6 separate regions of the Homo sapiens genome follow, and all the other regions are linked to region 3. The links are contacts of gene promoters, found by promoter capture Hi-C in blood cells and fetal thymus (Javierre and others, 2016). All regions are on one chromosome and are shown on one strand. Each heading gives the region's core, a stretch centred on a gene start or on the middle of the fragment in contact. The rest is flanking DNA. Distances are from core to core; before and after follow the strand shown.

Region 1 (4,879 bases), core at 540-3,039, 450 kb before region 3:
CAGGAAGGTAGAGTTGCTAGGGAAGGGGATGAGGGGATGGAGAGAAAGGAACTAGTGAAGAGTTGGTTGAACAAGAACCATACTGGGGGCAGAGTGAAGAGAGGTAAGGTGGTAAGGTATGAGCAATGGGGAGGAAGCAGTACTTTATAAGGGGCACAGCCAGAACCTAGAAACACCATCTAGGGCCTTGGCCACTGGCGGAACTGCAGTTCAGCACTGCTCAAGGCCCCTGGACCACTCAAGACAGAGGTAAAAGCTTTCTCTAGAAAAATTTGGGACTAGAGGCAACTCAACTAGGATGGTGATCATCCCAGATAAGGGCACTTGAAATTGCATCTTTCATAGACCCCTTGGGATACCATTAAAGACAGAAATTTCAAAATAAGACTTTAATAATGCTCTGAAAAGAGGAATCTGGTACAGCGCCCTGTGAATTTCCTTGTGTCAAATGCAGGGGCATTTGGGTCTCTGCCAAGGGATGCGACTATGTGTGGTCCTTGCACTGCGAGACAATGGGCCGTCCCCAAAGCACTTGATACCTTCTAAATTCTTTCCCAATACAGCTCTGCCTTCTCCCACCCCTTGAGCCCTCCTGGGGTAGAAAGGCCCATTTCTCTGTTCAGCCTCCTGGCCCATTCCCTGCTACAGAGCCTTCTATTTTTTTTTTTTTTTTTTTGAGATGAAGTTTCACTCCTATCACCCAGGTTTGAATGCAATGGCGCGATCTCGGCTCACTGCAACCTCTGCCTGTTCAAGTGATTCTCCTGCCTCAGCCTCCCAAGTAGCTGGGACTACAGGCATGCACCACCATGCCTGGCTAATTTTTTGTATTTTTAGTAGAGACGAGGTTTCACCATGTTGGCCAGGCTGGTCTCGAACTCCTGACCTCAGGTGACCCACCCGCCTTGGCCTCCCAAAATGCTGGGATTACAGGTGTGAGCCACCACGCCCGGACTACAGAGCCTTCTTAAAGCACTCTCACGACAGCTTCCCTTCCCTACCTCACCCCACGGCCCTCACCCTCCACTAACCCACCCCACATACACATCCCCACACAAGCAGAATCAAAGCTATGGTCCAAGGGTTCCCAGATGGCGGAGGGCAAAGCCTAAAGCTCACGAGGATGAAGATTGATCTGAACACTTACCAGGTGCAGGGTGTCGGCCTTCTGTGTCTGCCTCTGTCGGCTCTTCTGGGCGGCAATACGATTTTTCTCCCTCCTCTGAACTCTTCTCACATCATCAGATGAGTCCTGGGAAGCAGAGACGGGGAGGATTACATGGGTCTGCATCTCCCTTCTGAGTGAAAGCAGGCTCTGGTGGTGTGTGGTATCCGTCCAGCCATCCTTCCATGCCTTCGTCTCTGCATGAACCCTCCATCCCTCTATTTACCAAAAGCCTGCACCCGAAGGAGAGCTCTTCTCCATGCCTGCTTACACATTCCCAGGTCTCTGACTTTTTTGACCAATAGCTACAGGAAAAAGAAAAGAGAACTTGAGGACTCAATAGAGCTGTATTTGGCCAAAAAAAAAAAAAATGGTTAAGGCGATGAAGTGTGTTTTATCACCTCTCCTCTGTAGGGCTGCTCCACCCTCGCCCTCTCACTTTTTGGCCTTTAGGCTCTTCTTGCTGTTCTTTTAGCTGTTTTCTTTTTTTCAGACTTTGTTGAGTGCCTACTATATGCCAACCTCTGGGCAAGTGTTCTTTCAGAAGTGCTCTTGTTTAATTCCCCAATGCTGTGAAGTTGATATCATCATTTCCATTTTATATGTGAGGAAACTGAGGCTCTAAGAGTGTGCCCAAGGACTCCTGGTCATCTGAGAGTGCTACATCTTCTGGTGCTGAGCCCAATGGCTTTCCAAGACCCTTCCCCGCTAGCTACTCTGCACCCCATGTGGTCTTCTGCTGCATTCCTGAGCTGAGGGTGCATCCCAGATCTGCCTCCTCTTTCCTTCCGTTGTGCTCAGCCACTGTGACATTCCCCATGGCCCCAGCACAATGCCTGGCACATCAATGCCAAAAAGAACGTTAATGGTGGAGGTGACCTGGCTGTGGTGGGCAGTAGATGGGTGCTTGGTAGGATAAGGGGATCTTTGGGTGTTCTCTAATTACACCCAGAGAGAGGCATGTCCTGTGCCTGGGCAGAGAGGTTAGCTCCAGTTCTCTCCCAGATGCTGCAGTGTAGGTGTAGGAGTCCTGGCAACTCATGCCCTGTTCCCTTCCACGTCTCCCACAGGCTAGAGGGGCACAGATCCAAGGGCAAAGCTCTGGGATCACTAAGTACTGGGCTCACCAACATGTCCAATACTTTCAGGCCTTTGTGGTAGGAGGTCATTGGCATAGATAGGAAGGAAGTGCTCTTCCTCTAAGGGGGATGGGGCACCAGGTTACCATGGAAGCCATGAGTAATTTCCTTCCTAAGAAAAGTACAAACTTCCAGGCAGTCAGAGCCACTCTGACACCATCTTGAGCAGCAGACTGGATTCTGTGCCTTCTAGAGGTCTCCACCCAGACTCATCCCAGCCTGCTGCTCCGTTATTAGAGGCTTAGGATATACGCCCTGTTCAATATTTATATACTTTTATTTTGGCTGCAGCATTTTGAAAACCCTTGTGGATATCTGTGCTAAGGAAAGAATGAAGTTTTTAAACTATGAAGGTTGAGAAAATTTTAACCCACGGATACATGTCGGATGAGAAAGAGGAGGGCTTCCTACAGCAAGGGATGTCAAGAGTGTGGTGCAGAACAAAACCCTAGAAGCTGTGAGATGGGCAGGGCACTCCTTTTTTGGTAATCCTCAAGCTAAAACCTTTGGACTTGGAAGTCACAATCTAGACTCCAAATGCTCCCACAATCCCTATCTCAGTCTCTCTGGTTTCCCCAGAGCTAAGATGAACTACCAGCAAATGTCTTCCAACAAATTTCCAGAGCCACCTCCTCATTCATTTCCTTGCTCCTATCCAGAAGCCACAAGCAAAGAGATATTGGCTGGACCTCTAGCATCTCCCCTTGCTGGCTGTGCTAGCAACAGAGGCAGTGCCCCAGTAGAGAGATCCTTCTATGCTAGCCTGGGTTTCTCCTCCTCCTCCTCCTTCTTCCTCTTCTTCTTCTTCTTTTTTTTTTTTTTTAACTTTTCCCTAACCCCTTTTCTCCCCTTCCCTATTGGCTGTCTCCTGGGAAACTGCATATCTAGGATTTGAGCTGTGCATGCCAGCGGCCCACTTGAAAACTCCTCTCACTTTTCTACAGCCTTGGAGAACAGTAGACTCTTTTCTCTGCATTCTTTGATGTTCATCCTCCTCTTTGCTTCCTAGAAAGCTTTTTAGGGTGGCAACCCCAGTGAGGCAGAGGTGATAGGCAGCCTTGGAAAATGGAGAGAAAAAGGGGCTTTGGCAGAATGGGTGGAAGGATGAGGATCTCTGCCAATATGCACAGCTTAGTAGCAAATTCCATGTCCTAAGTCTAACAGAGTGCCCGTGCAACGAGCCACTTCCTCCATCCTCAGCTCCCTGGGCAGGACAAGGAAGCCTGGCTCTCTTTCCATCCCCCAGGAGAATCAGAAGGTAGGAGAGAGAAAAAGGAGGACTCTACCTGTTTGCCAGGGGGAGGAGAGCGGCTGAAGCTGGAGTCACTGCTGTCGGAGCTGTGAGGCATGGCTGAAATCTTCCGGGCTCTCACACTCAGCCCCAGGCACCTCTGGGCTCTCTTGTCACCAGCTGGGCTCCCTTCCTGACTTCTCCTGGGCCACCAGCCCACCACCCCCTACAGGTGCCTCCTCTGCCTGCCCTGTAGCCACCTCTGACCCCTGCGTCCTCCTCACTCTGGGGTGCAGAGGGACTGCTCCCCAAAGGGACATGTCGCTCGCTTTGGGGCTTGCACGCTCTCTCTCTCTCTTGTGGTTTCTGGTAACTCACGCTGGAAGTCACATGGGCGGAAACTTCAGCGAGTTAGAAGTTAGAGAGAAAAATACATATCTGGGAAAAGACCTACAGAATTATGTGAAAGAAAAAAAAATACAGATACCTTCCGACAGTTTGAAAGACACAGCAGCCCTCTTCAATTGATGAAGATAAAAGAGAAAAACAGCCCAGGCAGGGAAAAACCCCAGCCAGAATTAGCAAGTCCGTCTTCTGTCAACATGGGCAGAGAGGAGAGGACAACCAGGAAAATGTTTCCATTGTCATACGACTTGATTTTTAAACCAAAATAAAGCAAAAACACTGGGATTTCTTTCTGGTTTTCAGCCGAAAGCAGCTGCTCACCCATCTTGTCTTTCCTCACCCCTTAAGTCCAGCCAGCCTCGGGGTGGTCTGGAGATAAGACGATCCAAGGGTATTCTCCTTTCCTGACCATCAAACACAAGGGCTGTGGGAGATCAGAAAGCCACAAGGGAGGTTCTAGAATTGCTGCTCTGAAAGCCTATTAAGCGCCTGTGCTGCTTGGCAGGGAGCTCACACTCTTTAGAGAAAAGATGCCTTCCATATTGAGCAGCTCAAGACAGGCCCTGAATCTTTATGATTCAAGGTCACCTGGTCAGAACCCAGAATGCAGAAACAGTTAAAAAAAAAAAAGAAAGAAAGAAAGAAAGAAAAAGTGAAACAAATACTACACTTGGAGTCAGACCAACCAAGATTTAAATTCTGGTTCTACCACTTTGTATGTCTGTGGCCCTGGGTAGCTCACTTGAGCTATGTGACCTTCATTATCTTCATCTGTAAACAGAGGATGATAAAACCTGCCCTGCCTACCTCTTAGGAATGTGGCACAAAGCAAATGACAACGCGGATTAGAATGCCCCGCAGACTCTGAAGTAAATGACCGAGAGGGTAAGTGTAGGGTATTCCCAGCCTTGCCATGAGCGCATTTGTAGGGTTCTCAGT
Region 2 (4,447 bases), core at 1,193-3,692, 430 kb before region 3:
TTAATAATGGGAGGGAGAAATGTGAGCAGGTCAGGAGACAGCCTGAATAATTTCTGGGTAAGAGAAAATGAAAGAACCATCGTGAGAGAGAAACCATGGTGGAAAGAGCCTTGGCTAAAACTAGTAACGTGCAAGTGCCAAGACTGGAGTAGAAAACGGAGCAGAAATGAAGGTGGGCATCAGGGTACTGCCTCAAGTTGCACCATCCAACATGATAGCCACTAGCTACATGTGGGTATTGAGCCCTTGAATGTGGCCAATTAGTTCTATTAGAAGCAGAACTAATCAATTTTATTTTTATTTATTTATTTATTTACTGAGCCAGAGTCTCGCTCTATCACCCAGGCTGGAGTGTAGTGGTGAGATCTCGACTCACTGCAACCTCCGCCTCCCGGTTCAAGCGATTCTTCTGCCTCAGCCTCCAAAATGGCTGGGATTATAGGTGCCTGCCACCAGGCCCGGCTAATTTTTATATATTTATTAGAGACAGGGTTTCACCATGTTGGCCAGGCTGGTCTTGAATTCCTGACCTCAAGTGACCCACCCGCCTCAGCCTCCCAAAGTGCTGGGATTACGGGTGTGAGCCACTGCGCCTGGCCAGAACGAATTAATTTCAGATGCGCACTGAAGTATTTAAGAGTGATGTGTCATGTTATCTACAAGTTATATATAGATAGTATCTTAGATGATATTATTAAATTATTGTTAAATTCCTTAGGTGTGATAATGACATTGTGGTTATGTCCTTGTCTTTAGGAGATGTACACTGAAGTACTTAAGACTGATAGGTCATGTTCTCTACAAGTTATTTTCTAATGGCTTACAAAGAAATATGTAAGAGTGTGTGTGTGTGTGTGTGTGTGTGTGTGTGTGTGTGTTTGTGTTTAAAACTGGTGAACCTATTACAGAATGGAGGCTCACTGTTCTAGTATAGCAACTTTTTGATTGATTTGCTTTTTTCCCCAAAAATTTTTAAAAATGGGTGATAAAATGCTACATGATCATAGTAGGAAAAGTTTATGTTATTTTGTCACCAAGATGAAACAAAGGTGACTCCAGTAAAAATCTATATAGAAAGTTGTAATTTGAAAAAGAAGCAAACCAAAATGTAATACAATTTTATGCAATTGGTAGATTGTAACAATAAAAAAAATCCATTTGACATTTGATCTTGCAACAGTTCCCTTTAGGCGGCTCAGTTTGAATAGCATAGGATTACATTTGCTTGTCTGCAGGTCAAACCTCACTATTTAGATTGTCACTAAAGAATACACAATAAAATTATTGTAATTACTGTCTTCTGTTTTCAATTCTTAGGAACAATCTTTGAATAAAGCATGGAAGACTAAGTTATAGTAAAGTAATATAATAAAGTCATGGTAGAATAAAAAATGACAATGTTATTTATAGTGGTGTTTCTTCCGGTTTTAATTTTATTATTATATTTTCTTGTTTGTATGTTTGAAATATTTCACAGTAAAAAAAATTAAAAGTAATTGTTTATTAGCTGACCATAATCAGAAATAGAAATAGGAGATACAGAGAAGGTATTTATAAGTTCCCCAGAGAACAGACTCTGAGACTCTAAGACTTGGGTATAGGGAGGTTGTTGGAGAGTGTTCTCAGAAACATCACCTGTGAGAGTTGAGGGAGCCAAGACCAGGCAGGGGAGGAGTGAGTAGATACAAGGCCCCAGTCAATGCTGCAAGAAGTTTGGGAGGAGGCAGATGGCTCTTCAAAGTTGCTCCATTGAGGCCAATAGGCTGGCTACACCATTATAACACATAACCCATACTGACCAGTCACTGGATATGGGCTGCCCTCTGGGAGGTGGCATAATCTCTCACATAATCTCCAGGTAACTCCCTTCAGCCAAAAGCAATTCTTGGAGAGGGACTCAGCTGAGACCTCTTAGCTGCCAGCACTCCCCAAAGTTGGGGAATCAAGGCCTTGGTCCTGAAAGGGATCTGGGCAGCACGCCACACCACAGTGTCCATTACAAGGCAGAAGGAAGTCTGCCTTGTGTATTTTCCTGAACTTACACTTTGTAAGTTAGACATACTGTAAAAGGTGACGGGCCAAGAAATTGAGATGTAAGTATATTATTTAAAGTTATAAAGATTCCGATAGACTTAATATAAAAATAAAAATTGGGAGGGAGAACATGCGGTGAAATATAACTGAGTTAAATTCCTCAATATTCAAAGTATAAAGGAGTTTTCAAACAATCTTTAAAGTAGATAAACTAAGAGAGAGAAGTATAAACATATTTTAGAATTCTGCCTATAACCACAGGAGGACAAAACCTAGATCTGATTTTAAATGTTTACGTCTAAAGAGTCAGTCTAGGGGTAGGCCGGGAGATGTGGAAAACTTATGTTTTCTTTATCCTTTTGTAACTGTTTGAAATTTTATTACCACACACATGAACCATTTTTATAGTAGTTAAGAACAATAGCAACAACAACAAAAAAATCTCCCCCTTAGGAGCTGCTTGGAAAAACTTTCTCCTTTTATCTCCTTCCAACAGATAAACTGATTCAATCTGGACTCTCACATCTTATTCCTGATCCGAAAGTGTTGCCCGGAAAGCATAAGATGACCAGGCTTAGATAATACTCTACAGTTTTGTTTTTAATTTTAATTTTTTTTTTTTTGAGACGAAGTCTTGCTCTGTCACCCAGGCTGGAGTGCAGTGGCATGATCACAGCTCACTACGGCCTCTGTCTCCCAGGTTCAAGCGATTCTTCTGCCTCAGCCTCCTGAGTAGCTGGGATTACAGATGCGCACCACCATGCCTGGCCAATTTTTGTATTTTTAGTAGAGATAGGGTTTCACCATGTCAGCCAGGCTGGTCTCAAACTCCTGACCTCAAGTGATCTGCCCACCTCGGGCTCCCAAAGTGCTGGGATTACAGGTGTGAGCCACCATGCCCAGCCTTATTTTTTTTTAATTAAAATTTAAAAACCATTTAAACCTATTTACTTATTTACCATTGTATGCCCTGCAGTTTTGAGTGAACATCCTAAGGCTACCCTTTTGTGAGTTCTCCTTTTGGTTTAGTCCTGGCTTGGTTAGCAGAACCTAAAAGAATAGCCACTTCCAAAAACACGCTGGTAGGAGGTGAGGTTCCAAAGCCCAGTCCTGCCAGCTCCTATGGTGGGAAGAGCGACTGGAGCCTGGGGCCCGGGACTCCTGGCAACCCCAGCTCTACAAATGGCTGTGGGACTCTGAGAAAGCCTCTCCCAGGCTCAGGCGTCATCTGTGGAGTGGGAATAATAAAAGTAGCCACACGCTTTGTTGGGAGAGTTCAATGAGATGATGACTAGAAAGCGCTTAGGCCTGAGCACGTGGTCACCGCTCCTTAAATGTCTGCTGTGTTGGTGTCACTGCCGCTACCTTTTAGTTGTCACCGCTGCTCCTGGATTCCTCTGAAAAAGCTCAGGGAGACGCCATCTTCAAGCCTCATTAGGCATCTCCTTTGTGAAGAGCTCAGCCCCAAGGGCAAAATAAGGTCCCAGTGCTTCCAACAGTCCCTACTCTCAAGCCAGAGACAAAGAGAACAACGTCAGAGTCAATTCTCTAACTACCTTAATGACACTGAGAGCTGAGCCCTGAGCCCCGGGAAAGTTCCTGTGATGTGGTTGGAAAACTCCGTATCCCCTACTCAGCATGATGTCTCCGCCATTTGCTGGCCTGGATGTCCTGGACCCAGACAAAGCTCGACCATTTTCTGCTGTGTATGGTGTTCAGGACAGATGGTCCAGGCAGAAAGTTCAGCTCACTCTACCCAAAAATTTCACAGCAAGACCGCAGCTACGTGAATTCTACATTTTCTGTTGACAGCCCTGAAACCATAAAGTCCAGGTTCCAGTTGACTTAAAAAAAAAAAAAGAAAAGCACACGGTCATGGTGGTGTGCACATCCAGAAATTCAGACTGCGGGTCACCAGGCCCAGGGGCTTCTAGATGTTTAGTCTAAGGCAACAGAGTCTGGGCCTGCTACTGAGGTTTCTTGCTCTGAATCACCCAGCACAGAGGCAACCAGCAGTGGCTTTGACAACCCAAGCCACAGTTACACATCTCGCTGATTCTGAGGAAAGGGATGGTCCTCAAACTCTCTGGGGGCTCCCAACCTCATTTATAGAGCAGTTCTCTTGTATGTACAGTGGGTTGTAGAGCCTATTTCAGAATTTCTATGTCTACTTATTTTTATCCAAAAGTAATAAGAAAGAAATTAAGCTATGATCATATTTAATAATTAGTATAAGAGCAAACATCTATTTTGTAAATAAATATTTGTATACTGTCTTGTAAGCAATTATACATATGGTTTGTTTTTTTTTTTGAGATGGAGTCTCACTCTGTTGTCCAGGCTGGAGTGCAGCAGTGCCATCTCGGCTTACTGCAACCTCTGCCTCCTGGGTACAAGCGATTCTCCTGCCTCA
Region 3 (4,693 bases), core at 1,887-4,386:
ACTAAAACTACTAAAATAAAGTTTGTCAGCATGCCACACCTTGAGAAATAACCATTTTATAAACCAAGTGGCACAACCTTGACATGTCATTCATTTATGAGACAATCTTCTCCAGATATGTCCAAATGTGCCTATGAAGTTCACCTAAATTTATCATGTAAGTGTCACGAAACCCTTACTTTTTCCAACCTGGTTTTTCTAAAGTGAGAAATAATTGGCAAGGGCATGGTTTGTAAGATAACCAGAAAGAAAGTCCTTTTTACCTTCAAGGTGTTTACATTCTAAATGGGCAGAAAAAGAATTCCAAACTTAATTGTGTTTCATCTATTTACTAAGAAGCTATGTTAACACTGAGCTAACCTTAAAAGAGTGAATAGTTAAAGGAATGGTCACAGATCCTAGTCTTGGGAAGTGGCAGAATACATTGCAAAGAGTGAGGAGTTCTCTCCAGGTGACAAAAGGCTGCATTTTTTTCTTTAGATTTTTTGTGTCTTTTAAATTTTCTACAGTAAACTTTTATTACTTTTATAATCCAAAGGACACAAATTCTATGTCTAGATTTTTTAGTCATTCCAACCAAGATTTATATGCCGACTCTGCCACTTAAAGCTGTTTGTGACCTCAAGCAAGTTACTTAGCCTGTCCAAGTCTTGATTTTTGAACTGATACAATGAGAGATAATGTGGAGATCACATGAAAAGCTCCCGTCACAATGCTGGCATACAGTAGTAATCAAGAAATGTTAATTCTAGACGTCAATTCTTCCTACATGACACATGAATTTTCCCTAAAGAAAACTGATGATGACAAAACAGACCCCTACAATGATCACCACACCAAGTCACATCCATAAGGCTCTTGTTACCTTGGCTGAAGCTGGCCCCTTCCAGTTCAAGTACTGCTCTAGTTCTGTGCCCTTAGCCCGGGCCCTGGAGGAGTCAAACACTTTCCTCTTGGAACCCCGCATCCTGCTGCAGATGTTGGAGTGTCTCTCCAGCCTGAACGAGAGGAATTTGCGCCCACAGTGGCTGCACTCACCCAGCTGTGGCTCTTCAATGGAGCCGCTGGAACCTGAGGAGTCTGGTGCCATGGACAGGCTGGAATTTCTGGCGGATCCCTGCAAAGCACCGACTGGTGTTTCTGAAGGCGGGGAGAATTTCTCCACCGATGGCTCTGAGACTGGGTCTCGAATTTTATTATTGCTTGCTACCAGCCTTTCCCTTTTGAGCCTCTGGATTCTATAATCAGAGAACTGGAATGGACCTGAATTTTGTTGAGACCGTCCCCAAGTTTCATCCTCTCTCCTGTCTCTACTAAATTCTTCCTCAAACTCAAATTCTGGGGAGAAGATAGGTTTGTACATGGTGTTGCTTTTATTACCTTTAACTCTGCTCCTGGGGAGTATAATTTTCTGTAGCTCTCCGTTTTCATTTTCCTTGGCCTGTTCCTTTTGCGTCTGGATCCTTCTGAGTTCCTCCTCTGTCTTCTTCAGCTTTCCCCTCAGGAGAATCTGCTTTCTTCGGATTTCCTCCTCTAAGCTCTCCCCTGCAGCTTCTAGTCTTCGGATCTGCACCCACTCCGTCCTGTCAAAGTTTGCCACGGCCTTCTCCGCCTGCGTGGCAGCAAGAACAGTACCAACCACAGAAAAGTTGCCCTGGTTCCTCACACCAAAGTTCCTAGATGAAAACTCTCTCGGCTCAGGGGGCCTTGGGTAGACATTATGGTCCCCATCAGTGCCAGCCTCACCTGTACTGCACGACTTCCTGTGGACCATGGGTTTCAATGGGAACGCCCGGTCCACTCCAACTCGTTTCTTTGTAAAGGGGATAAAGTCCTGGTTATTGGCTTTGGGATACCAGGATTGAGGGCCTGACGAGTAAAACAAACCATTTCCTTGGCCCTGGGAATCACTTTCTGGATCTTGCTGGCTGATTCCAGTACAGTGGGGATAGGAGTAGCTCCGGGCTTTTGTTTGGGTGTTCCATTTGGGGTGAGTATAGACTTTATCCAGAATCAACTCTTTGTTGCTCAAAAGCTGCTTCTGGAAATTGTTCCTCAGGTGCCCCTTCAAGGACTGCTGGGAAGAGTCACCTTGTTCGTAAGAGTCTTGCTTGGCTGAGTGGGGCCCTGGAGCTTCCGTTGTATTATGTGGGAGCATAACGCCCACAGGCAGATGTGACGCCAACCGCTGGAGACCAGCCATTCAGGGCCTGGACTGACGCCTACGGGAGATTTAAACCAGATACACGGGAAGAGTTTGTCTGAGGTTCACTCTCGGCTGCTAAAGCAAACTATTTCTACATTTGCCCTGCCCACATTCCCTTAAACTTTTCTGGGGACAGTGTTGCTGGACCTGCCAAAGCTTCCCTTCAAAAACCATTTGGTGAGTGATTATGCACAAGACACTGTGTTAGGCCCTGAGGGTAGAAAAACGAAGGTGCTACAGGTGTTCCTGCCACCTAGCTTTCCTTTCCTCCAGCACCAGCCTCTGCCACGCACAGTATACTCTATAGTAGGTGGAAAGAGCACCTGACTAGAAAGTCAGGTTCTAGGCCTGTAACAGGACAAGCGACTTCTCCCTTGCTGGCCCCCGTTTCTTCCCCTGTAAACTGAAGGGTTCCCGCAGAGTCCAGCCTCACCATTTTACAGGTGAGAAAGCTGTGGCCCAGAGGTAGTGACTGGCACAAAGAACTCTCAGGGCTTCCCTCCTGCTGGAACCGTGCTTGATTCCAAAGAGCACAAAAGCTGCTAGGGCCTGGAGCAGGTGCCTGGCTGTCAAACCCTCATCCCAGGAGTCCCCGTGGCGCAGACTGTAAAAGTTTTGTAACCTGAGCGTTGAGGGCCACCTGACCTGACCGCGGCCGGTTTTAGATCCTTAAGGCTGAAGTCACGTTTTGTCCCGAAGGGTCAACTGGGGCGCCCCCACTTCGGACTCCACCTCTGGGGACAAGTCCTCTCGCTCTCCTGCCCTTCGGTCCCTTAGGAGGTGGAGGTGCTGATCCCATGTCTCCCCGCCCTTCTGCGTACCTGAGGCCCTCGGGCACCGCTCCTGCTCAGGGAAAACCCCAGGGCCTAGTTTCCCAGACCTGACCTCCCCATCAACCGACAGCCGCGCAGGCGCTCTCAGCTGGCTTCTGTTATTCCCGGTGCCTGGAAACCGAGGCACTGGCGCGCCAAGCTCCGCCCCTCGCCGCGAACTCCTCGGGGAGACGCGCGCAGGCGCAGTGCACCAGCGACCCGGGGCGACCGGGGGTGGGGGTGCGGTCAGCCCAAGGTCACTTGACCCAGTCAGTGTCCGGCCAACTCTGCAGCTCGGTCCAGCCCTGCCCTTGGGGAGCCGGGGAGGGGCGGGAGAGGCTTTTCTGGAGCTCCTTCAAAGAAGAACTTGTACTTTTCTGAGAACGACGCTCCCAGACCTTGGGGTGTGCCCTTGTCTGGCAAAGGGCGGAGGCCCTGGCTGTGCCTCCGCGTGCTTCCGCCGCAGGATGCCGGCGTCCGCCCGCCTGGCGGGAGCGGGGCTGCTGCTGGCCTTTCTCCGCGCGCTCGGCTGCGCTGGGCGGGCCCCAGGTATGGCTGCACGCGCGCGCTCCTTGCTTGTCCTCGCCAAGGCTTTGGAACTTGCTGCCAACGTTTTTGCTACGCAGTATCTTTCCGTGGTAGTTTTTGTGGCCAATCTAATTATTTTGATATTATAATGTTTTACTCACGTGGTAATTCTAGCCGTCTCTACTTAGGGCCCAGGAATGACTCAGCCAAATGTAATGATGATAAAGTTAACTACCAGATCGAAAATAATCAGTATAACCTGGCTTCAACAGTAAATGATACTCTATCTTGTTGACATCAAAAGAAAGTTCATTTTTCTTCTTCGCTTCAGTTCATCTGTGTAAGCCGTTTGGAACAGGCAGTTCGCTTTTTCCCTGTAACTACTCAATTCATGCACATGGAAAATAATGTAGACAGCAGTCATCAGTGTTAATACTTCAACATGTCATATTACAGCTGTTACCCGTTACAAGGAAATTCCTTGGTGGACCCTCCAGATCAGTCTTTTTTTTTTTTTTAATTCCTCGTTTTCATCCCTAGTTGACTCTACCGCCTCTCCGTATATGCAGCTCCAGACGTTTCCCACTCCACTCAGGGTCCCGATTATCAACTCCCACAGCTTCCCTCAGCAGAATTTACCGGCTTTCTTTTTCTCTTTCTCTCTCTCTCTGTCTCTCTCTCTTCTTCCTCCTCTCCCTCTCTCCTCTGTTTCTGTCTCTGTCTGTCTCCCTCTCTCCTCTCTCTCTCTCCTTCCCTCTCCTCTATGAGAAAGAAGGGCGACTTTCCATTGAGTTCCATTGAGTTCTCTTGAATTAGTCCTTTTCAGTACCCTCCGGGAATTGACTCCATCACTTTACCCCTGCATTTTTGTTTTGTTTTGTTTTCTGTTTTGTTGGTTTTTGGGGTTTTTTAAAGTTGTTTGTTTTTTGTTTTTTGAGACGGAATCTCGCCCTGTTTTGTTGCCCAGGCTGAAGTGCAGTGGCGCACTCTTAGCTCACTGCCACCTCTGCCTCCTGGGTTCAAGTGATTCTCCTGCCTCAGCCTCCCGAGTAGCTGAGATTACAGGCGTCTGCCACTACACCTGGCTAATTTTTTGTATTTTTAGTAGAGACAGAGTTTCACCATGTTGGCCAGGCTGGTCTTGAAC
Region 4 (4,849 bases), core at 1,620-4,119, 470 kb before region 3:
GTTAGTGTCTAGGAAGGAGGCAAGGTGGGTGGGGTGCGGAGGGACACAGGAGGGGCCAGATTAGTTGTTCACTAGCACAGCCATGGAGAAGGGCACCAGAGAATTTTCCTGCACGTGTGAATGTGTGCACAAGTGTATATATGTTTGTAGGTGTGTATGGGCGCGTTTACGTAAGCACATGGGTGGGTGTGCATGTATACACATAGATATGAGGCTGAACCACGTGAAGCTGCTGATATTTGTCTGTTGTGACCTATAAGAATAGCAATTTCAGGCCGGGCGCGGTGGCTTACCCCTGTAATCCTAGCCCTTTAGGAGGCCGAGGCGGGCGGATTGCCTGAGGTGGGGAGTTTGAGACCAGCCTGGGCAACGTGGCAAAACCCTGTCTCTACTAAAATACAAAAACAGAAATTAGCTGGGTGTGGCAGTGCGCCTGTAGTCCCAGCTACTCAGGAGGCTGAAACAGAAGCATTACTTGAACCAGGGAGGCAGAGGTTGCAGTGAGCCGAGATTGAGCCACTGCACTCCAGCCTGGGCAACACAGCAAGACTACATCTCTCCTCCCGGCAAAAAAGCAATTTCATATGGTTCAACCTGATAGAGGGGTGTGTGTGAGTGTGTTCCTCTGCGTGTATGCATGTAGGGGTCTCTGTGAGGGTGTGTGGGTGGGAGGTGGCGGGAATACAGCAAGGGAAAGCAGCTGGCAGGCCAGAGCCTAAGGAAATGGAAGGTCGTTTGTGAGAACGTCTTACACCAGTTTCACTCTTTTCCACTGTGTTATGCCACGTGTTTTCCAAAAGCTCCCGGTGTCTGCATTTCGTCTTACAAATAAAGTCACTGGATACTTGTCTACTGCACCCAGATTCTAGAATGCTCAGGGTCTTTATAAATAGTAAATGGGGCCAGGTGCGGTGGCTCATGCCTATAATCCTAGCATTTTGGGAGGCGGAGGTGGGTGGATCACCTGAAGTCAGGAGTTCGAGACCAGCCTGGCCAACATGGTGAAACCCTGTCTCTAAAAATACAAAAAAAAAAAAAAAAAAAAATTAACCAGGCGTGGTGGTGCACACCTGTAATCCCAGCTACCCGGGAGGCTCGGGGAAGAGAATTGCTGAAACCCAGGAGGCAGAGGCTGCAGTGAGCCGAGATCATGCCACTGCACTCCAGCCTGGGTGACAAAGCAAGACTCCATCTCAAAAATAAAAATAAAAATAAAAATGAAATAAATAAATACTAAATGGTCAAAGTCTGCTACAACGTTTTGTTCCACCCTGTCCGGCCTACCAGAAAGCATTCTGACGGTATTTTGGGGGTGTCCCAAGCCTGTGAGCTTCTCTTTTTTCTGGAAACTCTTTTCCCTGTTGCTTGGGGGAACCATCAAATACATGCTAATCAGAAAAATGCCTGCTAAGAAGTGCTGATTTCTGATCACATCATTAATTAATCAACAATTGCAATCTGGTAATTAGCAATTATGGAAAAGCAATCCCATCCTCAGAAAGCCCAGGAGATCGCAATTCCGGTATAATTTTAAGGTTTACATTATTCGACTCAACCAAACAGACTTTCTCTGCTAAGCATTGGTAACCACAGAGGAAAGGCAAATATCATTGGAGATGCAAAAAAAAAAAAAAAAAAAAAATTTCAGTTCAAAAGGCAACCTGATATTTGGAGACCAGGTCTTACCTTTCTAAATCTATTTGGATTAGGTCAGTATTTCCCAAACTTGCCATATCATGAGAATTAATTTGAAGGCTTGTTAAGAATAGAATTTCAGGCCCATCCTAAAATCTAGGAATGTGAATCAGTGGTTTTGGGATTTGCGGAGTGAAGTCTGCAGATCTGAATTTTTTTTTTTTTTTTTTTTTTTTTGAGACAGTCTCACTCTGTCACCCAGGCTGGAGTGCAGTAGTGTGATCTTGGCTCACTGCAACCTCTGCCTCCCAGGTTCAAGCAGTTCTCCTGCCTCAACCTCCCGAGTTGCTGGGATTACAGGCAGGCACCACCACGCCTGGCTAGTTTTTGTATTTTTAGTAGAGACGGGGTTTCACCATGTTGGCCAGGCTGGTCTTGAACTCCTGACCTCAGGGGATCTGCCCACCTTGGTCTCCCAAAGTGCTGGGATTACAGGCGTGAGCCACCATGCCTGGCTGCAGAGCTGAATTAAAAAAATAATAATAATTTTTTTTTTAAATCCTAGCCACTAGACTACTAGGGAGTGAAATTTGGATTTTTAACTAGTGCCACAGGTCATTCTAATGATCAGGCAAGTTGGAAAGCACTAGTTAAATATTATTTTAAATTTGTTTTAATTATTCAAGCACTTATTAAATGCCTATTTGTTAATGCCTGGCTCAATGCCTGGCACATAGTATGAACTCAGATGTTTGTTGACTGACAGACTTATGACATCATCTGCTGGAATGAAGAAGGTAACTCAAAAATAGGGTGGGTGGTGAGCAGATGTAAGATAACTTGACATTTAAAATTTGCCCTAAATAGGCTGGGTGCAGTGGCTCACACCTATAATCCCAGCACTTTGGGAGGCCGAGGTGAGAGGATCGCTTGAGCCCAGCAGTTTTTTGGTTTTTTGGGTTTTTTTTTTTGAGACAGTCTTGCTCTGTCTCCCAGGCTGGAGTACAATGGTGCGATCTCAGCTCACTGCAACCTCTACCTCCTGAGAGCCCAGGAGTTTAAGACCAGCCTGTGCAACATTATTGAGACCCAGTATCTACAATAATAAAAATAAAAGAAAATTAGCTATGGAGCACCAGGGGTTGGAGGCTGCAGTGAGCCATGATCATGCCACTGCACTCCAGCCTCACTGATGGAGTGAGGTCCTCTCTCAAAAAATAAAATAAAATAATAAAATAAAATTTGCCCTAACGAATCCATCAGGTGCATGAGCTGTAGGCTAATGAGGTTAATCGGTTATACTGTCAATCATCTTAAACCCCACATCCTGGGGGGGGTCTTTCTAAATGGCAGAGAAGCATATACCAACATGGCCTTGCTCATCAAGCCAGGTTCCATCATCTGTGAAGGACAGACACAAGCATGCTCAGCCTCAACCTGGCATTTCTTGAATGGGGCTCTGAGCTAGAAAGTGTGCCAAGGTCAGTACAAAGGAAGCCCCTCTAAAACGGGGCAGAGGAGTTATCAAGAGCCACGATGATGGAGTCACAGCCCTGCCTTCTGCAAGGTGTGGCCGGCTCATTCATTTTACCATTTGGGTATTTCCTGGCACATCCCAGAAGGAGGGCATCCCCTCTTTACCGAAAGGTAAGATCAAGCAACACGATGAGACTAGGGGGTGTTGGTAAGACGGGAACTGGGGGCCGGGAGTCCTGGCTCCTTCCTCTAGCCCTTTTCTTCGCCCCCTCTGAGAGTTTCCACTGGTGACAACATTTACTGTAAATTCTGTGCTCTGAAGAGCCTGGGCAAACCCCGAGGCAGAAGGGAGGGCCACTCTGACCTTCTCCCCGCCTAGAGGCTGGCCCAGCTTTCGGGAAGTGACAGCGGGTCCTTCCTCCCTAAGCAAGCTCTGCTGAGCTCACTCTAGCTCTGTCGTCTGCCTCCCCCTCCCTGGCTTGCAGATCCCAGAGCTCTAGGCAAAGTTTGTAACCGCTGCCTGCTGCCTCTAACCAGAAAACCACCGCCAGTGATAAGAAACTTGTCTTTACCTTGGGAAGCAAGAGTGCTTCCTGCTAGGGCCCCCAAGAAACCTGCCCTGCCAGCCCAGGGACCGTGCAGCCAGCCTGACACTTATGAGAGAAAGGGTTTGACTTCCCTTGCAGGAGGAAGTGGCTGATCTGGGGCCTCGTCCCTCCATGTCCCTGCTATTGCCCAGTCCCCTCTGGCCCTCCTTGGGGCAGTCATGCCCTGGAAAGGGCTCGCCCAGCTGAAGGGACAACTGGCAAAGGTGGCATGAGAGCAGCTGTTTATCCAGAGGTACAACAGTGACATCCCCTAACAATGAGGGCTGGACACCTAGAGCACAGTGAGGCTGGGAGGAAATGCAGCTTCTCCCATATGCATGTCTTCTGCTACTGAGAGGGGTGGGGGTGAGCCTGCATTTGGGCATCCATGTACCCATCTTTCTCCTATTCAGAATTCATCCAGGTCCATCAGACTCCTCACAATAACGCTCTGTGTGGGATAGGGAAGGTCAGCTGTTATTATCCCCACTCTACAGATGAGGACAACTGAGACCCTGGGACAAACCTATGCCACATACCCTCCAAAATGACCACAGGCTGGTGACAGCTGTGCTATAGGATTCACCTCAAGGCACTTGTTTTCTCAGAAGTTCAGAAACTTTGAGTGTTTGATGCAAAGACTCATTGCCCGCGAGGGAGGCGCAGAGCAGGGCTTGGCTCGGGGCCCTGTGTTCCTTCTCTCACACTGACTGCTTCCCCCGAGAGACTGGAGACTTGAGTGGGCAAAGGTCTCCCGAGAACACTAGAAAGTTGGCCAGGTGCTGTGGCTCACGCCTGTAATCCCAGCACTTTGGGAGGCTGAGGTGGGCAGATCACTTGAGGTCAGGAATTCAAGACCAGCCTGGCCAGCATGGTGAAGCCCTGTCTCTACAAAAAATACAAAAATTAGCCGGGCGTGGTGGCGCATGCCTGTAGTCCCAGCAACTCCGGAGGCTGAGGCAGGAGAATCACTTGAACCTGGGAGGCAGAAGTTGCAGTGAGCCAAGATTTTACCATTGTAGTTCAGCCTGGGCAACCCAGCAAGACTCTGTCTCAAAAAACAAAACAAAACAAAACAAAAAAATAAGTCCTTGGCTACCCTGTTGTCTCCCAGGAGAAAGCTGGGTCTCGGTTTTGGTGACCCACACACA
Region 5 (4,462 bases), core at 115-2,614, 490 kb before region 3:
TTTTTTAACTTTCTTCTTGTAAAGACGGAGTCTCACTATGTTGCCCAGGCTGGTTTCCAATTCCTGAACTCAAAACAATCCAACCACCTTGGCTTCGCAATGTGCTAGGATTACAGGTGTGAGCAACCGCACCTATAATCAGAAGGACATCTTTAGAGTACATCATTTAAAAAATCTATTAAGCTTTCAACCTTTTAAAAAATGTTATCAAGTAATGTACATAACATAAATCTTCATCCAGTTCCCGAACCTCTTTGCATCCTTCGTCTCCACTCCTTCCTGCTCACCATTAATGACACATTGTGTCAGAGTGGACAGATGGAAACGGCCCGAGTCAAAGATTCTGCCTCACGTGGAGTAGGCTTTCTCCTGGGAGTGTGAGGCCCTCCTGGCTCACCACACTGTGGCGACCTGGGAGCTTCTGCACTCCAATCCAATGCCGATGTCCTGGGCCATGCTTGCTACCAGCAGCTCTGTTTCTTGAGTCTTGGGTGACTGCTGTGTTGACTGATGAAGAGTTTTTATCTAAGGGTCTACGAATGGGTTTCAGAATCCTGCAAACCCCTGAAATCATATCATCCAAATTGATTAATACACATGTGTTTTGGCTGGGCATGGTGGATCACACCTGTAATCTCAGCACTTTGGGAGGCTGAAGGGGGTGGATCACCTGAGGTCAAGAGTTTGAGACCAGCCTGACCAACATGGGGAGACCCTGTTTCTACTAAAAATACAAATTAAATTAGCCAGGCGTGGTGGTGCATGCCTGTAATCCCAGCTACTTGGGAAGCTGAGGCAGGAGAATCACTTGAACCTAGGAGGTGGAGGTCGCAGTGGGCTGAGATCACGCCATTGTGCTCCAGCCTGGGCAACAAGAATGAAACTCTGTCTCGAAAAAAAAAAAAAAAGAAAGAAAGAAAGAAAAAAGAAACATGTTTTATAAAGGGAGAGGCGGGGGAGTCCACAGTTTCATCAGATAGTCAAAGCAGCCCAATGACCCCCAGATGAAATAAATCACGGTTTAGATGGATAATCTATACATTTCAGGTTTAAAAATCTACTTCGAGCTTGTCACCTAGTATCTGCCCTGACTATATACACTGTGCTAGGTGCAGATCTGACTGTTGTGTTTATTTCATCACTATGGGTAACTAAAGTGGATTTCCTGACACAAATTATGCAGGACTAGACAGAGACATTACTAGATTAATTGTGGACAGGGTGAGGCACATATTTGGTGAGACCACTTTGCCTTCTAGAGGTGACCCTTTATTCTCCATTTGCAACAAGATTCTGAGAGCCAGGTCTGAATGAAAAATTTTAACCCGTGGCTTCTATGTTCCAGGTGATCTTGGACTTAGGAGAAGAGAGAAGACGCTGAAGGAGGTGTGGAAAGCTCAGGGAGTGGGAATGGCTTTCCTTATCTGCCCATCGATCATGTCCGTGCTTCAGTTGAGACTGAAGTCACTTGGCAGCCACACGTTTTAGACTGAGGTAACTCCCCACTGCCATAAAGGTCAAGAAAGCCACTGTGCTGACACAGGTCCTCCCCTGACAGCCTGTTCCACAGCGACCCTTGAGTCATCATGTCTGGATGACTAGGCTGACAAAAACAAGGTTTCACAGGGTGAGTTGAATTGTGGGGGAGCGGGGCACAGCACAGGGCAGCGGAGTAGGAAGGGCACTGCACTTGGAGTCTGAAGATCAGGGCTGAAGGCCTTGCTCAGTGAGCTTGGGCAACATGTGTTGGTGTTTGGGCTTCACATAAAATTAGACACTATTCACAATAGCAAAGAGACGGAACCCATCTAAGTTCCCATCAGCTATAGACTGAATAAAGAAAATGTGGTACATATACACCATGGAATACTATGCTGCCATAAAAAGGAACAAGATCATGTCCTTTGCAGCAACATGGATGGAGCTGGAGACCATTACCCTGAGCGAACTAACACAGAAATGGAAAAACAAATACTGCATATTCTCACTTGTAAGTGGGAGCTAAGGACACAAAGATAAGACAAACAGACACTGGAGCCTACTCGAGGGTGGAGGGCAGGAAGAGGGTGAAGACTGAAAAACTACCTATCAGGTATTAGGTACTACGTGTATTACCCGGGTGATGAAATAATCTATACACCAAACCCCCGTGACATGCAATTTACCTATGTAACAAGCCTGCACATGTACCCCTGAATCTAAAATAAAAGGAAAAAAGATAGGGCAAAAAGGAAATGAGAGGCTGCTATTAACATGTTACCGGGGAGCTAGCAGGTATTCAATGATTGGGACTGTGCAGGTACAACGTAGTTATCACCCTAAAACAGGATGTAGCCAACATCCTGTTCACGGCTACCCGGAGTTTCACAGTAAAATATCTGCAGAGCTTGTGTTTGGAAACCAGGTTGATGCCCAAATCTGTGCAGATTTGCATTCCTGGTCACTCACCCAAACATCTCTTCAGAGCTATGCCCTAGGATAGAGTGAGGAAGCTGAATGAGGCGCCAGCTTGCATCTAGAGGTCAATTCTCTGTATTCAAGCTTCTGCCCAAACAAGTGATGGTTGGCTGCCATGGTTCAGGACTCTCTCAAGCTGGGAAAGGAGGATGCAGGAGGGAGGGGGAACGGAGGAGAGGGAGGAAAGTTGATCTCTGCAGTTCTCTGTCACTAGGTGGCAGCACCAACCCGGGACCGCTGTCCCAATGGTCCTGGCTGTAATCCTGGAATGTGGGGAGTTCCCCAGGTGCGCTTGCGCTTGCTATATATAGCTCCAACTTTGCAAGCAGCCAAAGAGAGGTTGAGTCCCATCTCCACGTTTAACTGTGTGACCTTGGGCAAACCATTTAGCCTCTTCGGAGTCTTTCTTTATCTGTAAAATGGGGATAATAATCTTTCCTAAAATAATAGAGTGAACAGAAAATGAGATCATAAATGGCAGCCAGTATCATCCCTGCCCCTAGCAAGATGACCCCTCACTCTTTCATACATCACCTTTATTTTGCACTTTTCTTTTCTTTCAAGGGTGCCCCTAATGCTTATTTTAAATGAGCATATGTAGATGAACACTTTGGGGTGGGGGAGTGAGGCGGCAGGAGGAATGGTCCATGGTGTGATTTTTTTTTTAGAACAGACCCAACTTTTTAATCTTCCTTCCCCTCCTTGCACCCATTCTCTTCCTCTTCATTTTCTTTCTTCTATCTTGGGATTTTTATTTACAAATATGTTAATCATCTGCTCTGTGCAAACCTCTGGCGAGGCAGAGACAGGTGGGGAAGAAGAGGGAGAGGCGAGGAGAATTACAAGAACACACTGGAGAGTCCCTCCCTCCAAGACCCCCACAGTCCTGTAGGTGCTAAGCTGATAGCGAGATGGTGCGCACCGGTGCAGTTGAACTGGCTGTTGAAATATTAAAATATGTACATCTGGCTGACTGATAGCCCCTACCCTAGTGCCCCTCCATGCAACAACGCAGACGCATGCCTTCACCCTGCTCCAGCTCCGACCCCATTCTGACTGCCAGTGCCTGGCCTGGATTTTGAATATTGCCTTTTAGCTGATGGGCTGAGCTCCTCATAGAATGGACTGAAGAGGATGGGGAGTGAAGCCTGGAGGCTGAGTTGCAACTCCCAGTGATGGTTTTCAAATTAGAGCCTGGGGTTCCTTCCAGAAGCAGTAATGGGTAGTATCCAGGTTGGGCAATCCAGAGGCTGGTGTGGTTCTGGCTGCATGCCCAGTTTCTGGTGGAGCACAGAACACCCTCAAACCCTCTCAGAAAGCAGTCTACTCCTGTTAGCCCCTGAGAATTAGGATGCAGTGCCCTGCCCCCTCGCCCCCTCTCTGGGAAACCCAGGTACAATGAGTCACCATTTTTTTGGTTTCACAATAGAAGCTTACTCTGGTTGACATCAGCAGTAAATGAATGTATTGGAAGGATGTATGTGGCTCACAGAATTCAAAAGAAGCCCAGAGAACAAGGCCCAGAACAAGGCAGAAGCCAGGACAATTCTCCACCACAGGAATTCTCTCTCTGGCCAGGGCTTCACAGTTAGAGTAGAGGGGCTCCAAACATCTTCTGGGTCTTTTCTTTGCTCTGCTCCAAAGCGAGATTCCCAGTAGTCTGATTGGCCCAGTCTGGGTGTTTGGTTGTATCTTGGCCAGATAAGGCAGAGAAGACACCTTGATTGACAGCTCTACACATAGAAAGGAAATGCAGATGCTTTGTCAGAAGAAGGAGTAATAGAGCCGGGGCGCAGTGGCTCACGCTTATAATACCAGCATTTTGAGAGGCCTAGGCGGGTGGATCACTTGAGGTCAGGAGTTCAAGACCAGCCTGGCCAACATGGTGAAACCCCATCTCTATTAAAGATATAAAAATTAACCAGGCGTGATGGCATGCACCTGTAATCCCAGCCACTCAGGAGGCTGAGGCAGAAGAATCACTTGAACCCGGGAGTTGGAGGTT
Region 6 (4,518 bases), core at 1,507-4,006, 400 kb before region 3:
ATCCATTCCTTTTTTGATCTTGATAACTCCATAAAAAGACTTGGATTATTACTGTTCCCACTTCACAGATAAGAAAAATGAGGTTCACAGCTAGTCAATAGAAGATTACATCATGAACCCGTTTGCCTTTAAGGTGTGTCTTCTGTGAACACCCTTGGAGATGGTTTGCCTGAGACTTGGGAATTCTTAACATGTACTGTGAGCACAGGTGGGTCTGTGCCATCTCTCCCGGCTTCCTGCACAAGTTCCCTGGCAACTGAGGTCACACCACAAACACATTTTTCCTCTCATGGGGAGGCTCAGCCTCAGGTTTTATGCACCTGAAGTCAGACTGACAATAACATCTTGGCTCTGCCACCTAACACCTGTGACCTTGGGCAGGTTACCTCTTCTGTGTGCCTCGGTTTTCTCATCTGTAATGTTGGAACGCTAGCACCTACCCCCCAGTCAGGGTGCACAAAGCAGTTGAGGTCACACATGCACAGTGGCAGGTGCCCAGAAGAAACTCAAATGCTGGCTCTTGCAATGAAGCCTATAATTGTGACTTCTAGCCACAGGAGCAGCCAGTGGTCCTGGTGAGGAAGGCTCCGCACAGCACAAGTCACTGGTGTGGTGACTTTGGAAGACAGCCCACCTGCACAGGCTAAGGAGGCTCTATTTTGGAGATGCCAGCTCCCGGTGGCCAAGCACAGGACCAGGGAAGCCACAGCCAGTGGCACACGGCAGTCCTGTAAGAACATCCACTAGGTCACTGGAGGGACCCTGGTAAGTCCACTTCATTTTTCTCATGGCTTGAAAAATATCAAAGGATTACAGCGCGAGGGGTTCCTGATGCAGAACTGACACTGCCTCACCTGCATCGTCCGGACCGACAGCCTCAAGACCCCCGAGACAGAAGGCAACCCGCTGCCACAACCTTCTGCCACAGCTGACAGTGAGAGGACCAGGTCCTGTTTCTAGGGCGGGGTGCAGGGGAGTCCACACCAAGTGTGTTGGGTGGAGGGAAACTGAGAGGAGTGAGCGAGGGAGGGATCACAGGTGTGTTAATCACCATTCTCCACTTCTGCCCATCCCAGAAGGCCTCGTCCACAATTTGGGAAGCAACCCAGGTTCACTGCTGTTCTTGACACGAAGTCATCACCAGCAACTAGTTATCCTAAGTCCAGGGATGGAGGAGAAAGAACACATGATTAGAATGCAGGAGTCAAGTTTAGTTGGGTAAACTGTAGCCTTTGCAAGCTTCAGTATACAAGGAAGCTAAAAACACCTCTCCCGCCTTCCTCATGCGTGACATGCCTTGAGAACTGCCGAGTGCCAGGTACACAGCAGGCACTGAGTGAATGCCACTGAGCTGCTCCGGCCCTGGGTGGCAGGGATTCAGCTGTCGAGGTGAGGGGGCAGAGAAGCCATCCACACCCTTCCCTGGGTCAGACACACATTGACCAGGGTAGTTGGTTCACTCTGTGATCATGGGACAACCTGGAACTCTATCCAGCCTTCCCAGAAACTAAATCTATAACTGTGGCCTCATAAGCTTCCTATTCAACCATGAGGACAATCATAGTGGGTTGGTGACAGGAGGAGAGTCACAGGCCTCTGGAGGGAGAGTTCAAACACCAGCTCTATCCCTTGCTAGCTGGGTTACCTTGGATAAGTCGCTTACCTTCTCTGAGCCTCAGTTAAACCATCTGTAAAATGAGAAGAATCGTGCCTAGTTTGTGCTCTTGTGAGAAGGGAAGAGACTATGTCTGCTTGTCACAAAATAAGTCTTCAACAAATGGTGTCTGCGAGTTTAATTCCCTGGACCTCTAATTCGCCATCTGTGAATTGGGGACAAGTGCTGTTCCCTGGCAAGGCTGCCATGAAGACGAAATGAGACAACTTATGGAGCAAGCACAGGATTCACTCCTTACTGGAGGCCCCACAAGGGCAAGACTTAGGTCTGTTTCATCCTCCAGTGAATTCTCAGGGCCTGGCACACACAACAGGCCCTCAGAAAACATCTGCAGAGTGAGCGAACACTCTGACTGCTCTCAAAATAGTAACTGCAGGTGGCTTAATGTCTCTGAGCCTTAGCTTCCTCATCTGTGAAATAGGAGAGCTGTTGTGAAAATGAACAGGCCTATAGCAGAGGCTCCAAACAGTCTCCGACCCTGAGAGGGCCTTGCACCCATTCCCCAGGCAGACACCACGCAAGGCGGCTATGTAAGTAAGAGCAATGTTTACTGAGCGATACAGGACTGAGTACTATGAAGGGTTTACAAGGATGGAAATGCACCCCGCCCCCGCCCTGGCCACCCCCGACACCCAGAGACTACAGTACTTAGGAGTTACACACAACGGCCGTAACTGGTGGCTATCTGTTCATAACAAACAAACCATAGCATATTTATACTGTATCACATCGAGTGATTATAGAAATCCATATATATATTGCTTGTATAAAATCTTTTTTTTTGTAAAAAATATTAAAAAAAAAAAAAAAAAGGAAAGTATAAAAAACATGTGCAGTTGAAAGCCCTGCCAGGACAGCCAGTCTGTAAACATTCGGTGAGTATGTGCTTTGGAAGGGCGCCCGCGCCTCAGTGCCCACAGCAAACTCCAGCAGGGCTGGCGAGGGTGCGCCCGGCTGCCGCCTCCTGGGCAGGGCCGCGCTGGACCGAGGTGGGTGGGGGCATCAGGGCCCCGCAGCACGCCCCTCTCCAGCTTCGCATCAGGGCGAGGGGCAGGGCTGGGGGCAGGTGGGTTGCAGTTTCATTCTGAGTTCCATCCTCAGCCGCGTTTTGGTTGCAACTCATGGCTTTTCCTGGCTGTTCGGAGGTTCCTTGGATGGGTGCCCTGGTGAAGAGGCCAGAGAAGAGCCCAGGGCTGCCTCGTTGGGCGTCTCCCTGGCCTCGGTGCCTCTGTCCTGCCTCCTTCAAGTGGGGCCCCAGGCAGGACAACCCTACCCGAGGGTCAACTTTGGTCTCAGCGCTTGGTCCCTCTGGGTTTCCTCAGCCCGCTCTTCCTCCTGGGTGGCTGATCTGAGTTTCACAAAAAAGCTCGGCTGATGCTGGCTGTGCTGAACCTCATTGTACAGTTTTTCATGCACCAAAGGAAGGGCCATCTGGGGCCCCCCTCCTCCTCTCTCTTCGTCACTTTTCCTTCTCCTCTTCCTCCTCCTCCACCTCCTCCCAGCCCATGGTCACTTCTTCTCGAGCTGCTCGAGCAGTGGGTTGCCTTCTGACTCGGGGGTCTTGACACTGTCGGTCCGGACGATGCAGGTGGGGCGGTGTCGGTTCAGCATCAGGATGAGCTGCTGCCGCTCCTGCTTCAGCTCCTCAATCTGGGTCTTCAGCTCTGCGTTCATGAGTTCCAGCCGCTCGGATTCCTGTATACCAACACAGAAGCACGCTGTGAGTTTCACGGGGACTGGCTCTGGGGAGAGGCTCTGCCTGTGGTTAGGCACAGGGCACGCTGGGCTGGCACTGGCCTGTTTTCTGCAGGAAGAAGCACAGACCCTGCTACTGAGCCCCTGGCTAACTGACTTTCTGCAGGCAGTGCCTGCCACAGCGGTGACACTGGCCTGTGTCATGTCCAGGTTATATTCTAGGGCCAGCCAGACTCACGTCCCACCTCTCTCCCCTCCCTCAATCCACCCCAGCTTCAGTGACCACCTTGCTGTTGCTCAAATATGCCAAATACTCTGCCGCCTCAGGGCCTTTGCACAAGAAAGAAAGGGTGGGCAAAGAAAGGAGGCCAGGTGGACCTAGAGCAGGTCTACGGAGCAAGCATGGGGGGGCCCAAGAGGGGACCCAGATGGCAGTGTAACGGCAACGTGCTTTGATGTGTGACAGACACATGTGGGAGATATCTTGGCCGGTGGGATCAGTGAGTGTAGTGTAGTCATGTCATTCCTCCTAAAACATGTGCTTCCTAGCTATTAGTCTATAATTATTTCAATAGCCTCTTCCTTATCCCTATAATCTGGAAGCTTTGCCCACAGACAGGGAATCAGCAGTCATCCTGCTGGATCCCAAATGAGGTTTCCAATAGACCTTGAGTGAGATTTCCAGGGAACTTCCGGCTCAGCTGGAGAGGTTCCAGGGGAAGGAAGGAATGTTGACGATTTGATTCGGGAGGTGGCGAGGGTTACATGTCCATCGTGTAGATGGGAGATGGGCATATCGATTCAAGGCTTGGGGGATTGAACAGTAAAACAGCATCTGAATGATTTTTCTTGGATTATGTCTGAAAACTTTGAGACTTGGCATTTATTCGAGGGCCAGCAAAGTTTCAGACCAGTGGTTCTCAACTAGGACTGATTTTTGCCTCCCAGGAGACATTTGGCAATGTCTGCAGACATTTTTGATTGTCACAACTCAGAGGGAGCTGTGCTACCAGCATCTAGCAGGTAGATGCCAGAGATGCTCTAAACACCCTTCAATGCACAGGCCAGCCCCACAAGTATTTAGTCCAAAATGGCGATAGCGTAAGAGATTGAGCAACTTGTATCAGTCAAAGAGCAAGCAGTAGTTG

What was found. The method cuts DNA at HindIII sites, captures the fragments that hold promoters and counts their contacts. A CHiCAGO score of 5 or more calls a contact.
Region 1: a contact is called between a fragment that was not itself captured here and the fragment with the promoter of ZC2HC1C in region 3, in 1 of 17 cell types (neutrophils). The highest score is 5.5, in neutrophils.
Region 2: a fragment that was not itself captured here is called in contact with the fragment with the promoter of ZC2HC1C in region 3 in 1 of 17 cell types (neutrophils); the score reaches 6.0 in neutrophils.
Region 4: a contact is called between a fragment that was not itself captured here and the fragment with the promoter of ZC2HC1C in region 3, in 1 of 17 cell types (neutrophils). The highest score is 5.6, in neutrophils.
Region 5: a fragment that was not itself captured here is called in contact with the fragment with the promoter of ZC2HC1C in region 3 in 1 of 17 cell types (neutrophils); the score reaches 7.3 in neutrophils.
Region 6: a contact is called between a fragment that was not itself captured here and the fragment with the promoter of ZC2HC1C in region 3, in 2 of 17 cell types (neutrophils and monocytes). The highest score is 5.9, in neutrophils.

Annotation. Positions count from the first base shown.
Region 1 is chr14:75,521,457-75,526,335 of GRCh38, reverse strand. BATF (basic leucine zipper ATF-like transcription factor) reads right to left here and starts at 3,867. Exons shown (of 3, transcript NM_006399.5): 1 at 3,591-3,867; 2 at 1,148-1,252. The coding sequence starts at 3,653. RefSeq lists an enhancer at 3,570-3,899. The HindIII fragment of the contact is 3,061 bases long and covers 259-3,319 here.
Region 2 is chr14:75,498,759-75,503,205 of GRCh38, reverse strand. No RefSeq gene overlaps it. Among named protein-coding and RNA genes, the nearest start is that of BATF, 21 kb to the left of the region's middle. The HindIII fragment of the contact is 4,882 bases long and covers 2-4,447 here.
Region 3 is chr14:75,068,084-75,072,776 of GRCh38, reverse strand. It overlaps ZC2HC1C (zinc finger C2HC-type containing 1C), which reads right to left and starts at 3,136. Exons shown (of 3, transcript NM_024643.4): 1 at 3,028-3,136; 2 at 866-2,222. The coding sequence starts at 2,203. It also overlaps a transcript of ACYP1 not described here. RefSeq lists enhancers at 2,390-2,941, 2,942-3,493 and a silencer at 3,118-3,237. The HindIII fragment of the contact is 2,993 bases long and covers 2,365-4,693 here.
Region 4 is chr14:75,541,586-75,546,434 of GRCh38, reverse strand. The region is part of intron 2 of BATF (basic leucine zipper ATF-like transcription factor); the gene reads right to left. Among named protein-coding and RNA genes, the nearest start is that of BATF, 22 kb to the right of the region's middle. The HindIII fragment of the contact is 7,175 bases long and covers 1-4,849 here.
Region 5 is chr14:75,559,356-75,563,817 of GRCh38, reverse strand. LOC107984653 (a long non-coding RNA gene) reads right to left here. Exons shown (of 2, transcript XR_001750830.1): 2 at 3,900-4,190. Among named protein-coding and RNA genes, the nearest start is that of FLVCR2, 17 kb to the left of the region's middle. RefSeq lists enhancers at 1,462-1,541, 3,847-4,006. The HindIII fragment of the contact is 2,358 bases long and covers 186-2,543 here.
Region 6 is chr14:75,468,142-75,472,659 of GRCh38, reverse strand. JDP2 (Jun dimerization protein 2) reads right to left here. Exons shown (of 4, transcript NM_001135048.2): 4 at 1-3,370. The coding sequence ends at 3,185. Among named protein-coding and RNA genes, the nearest start is that of JDP2, 42 kb to the right of the region's middle. The HindIII fragment of the contact is 2,439 bases long and covers 1,537-3,975 here.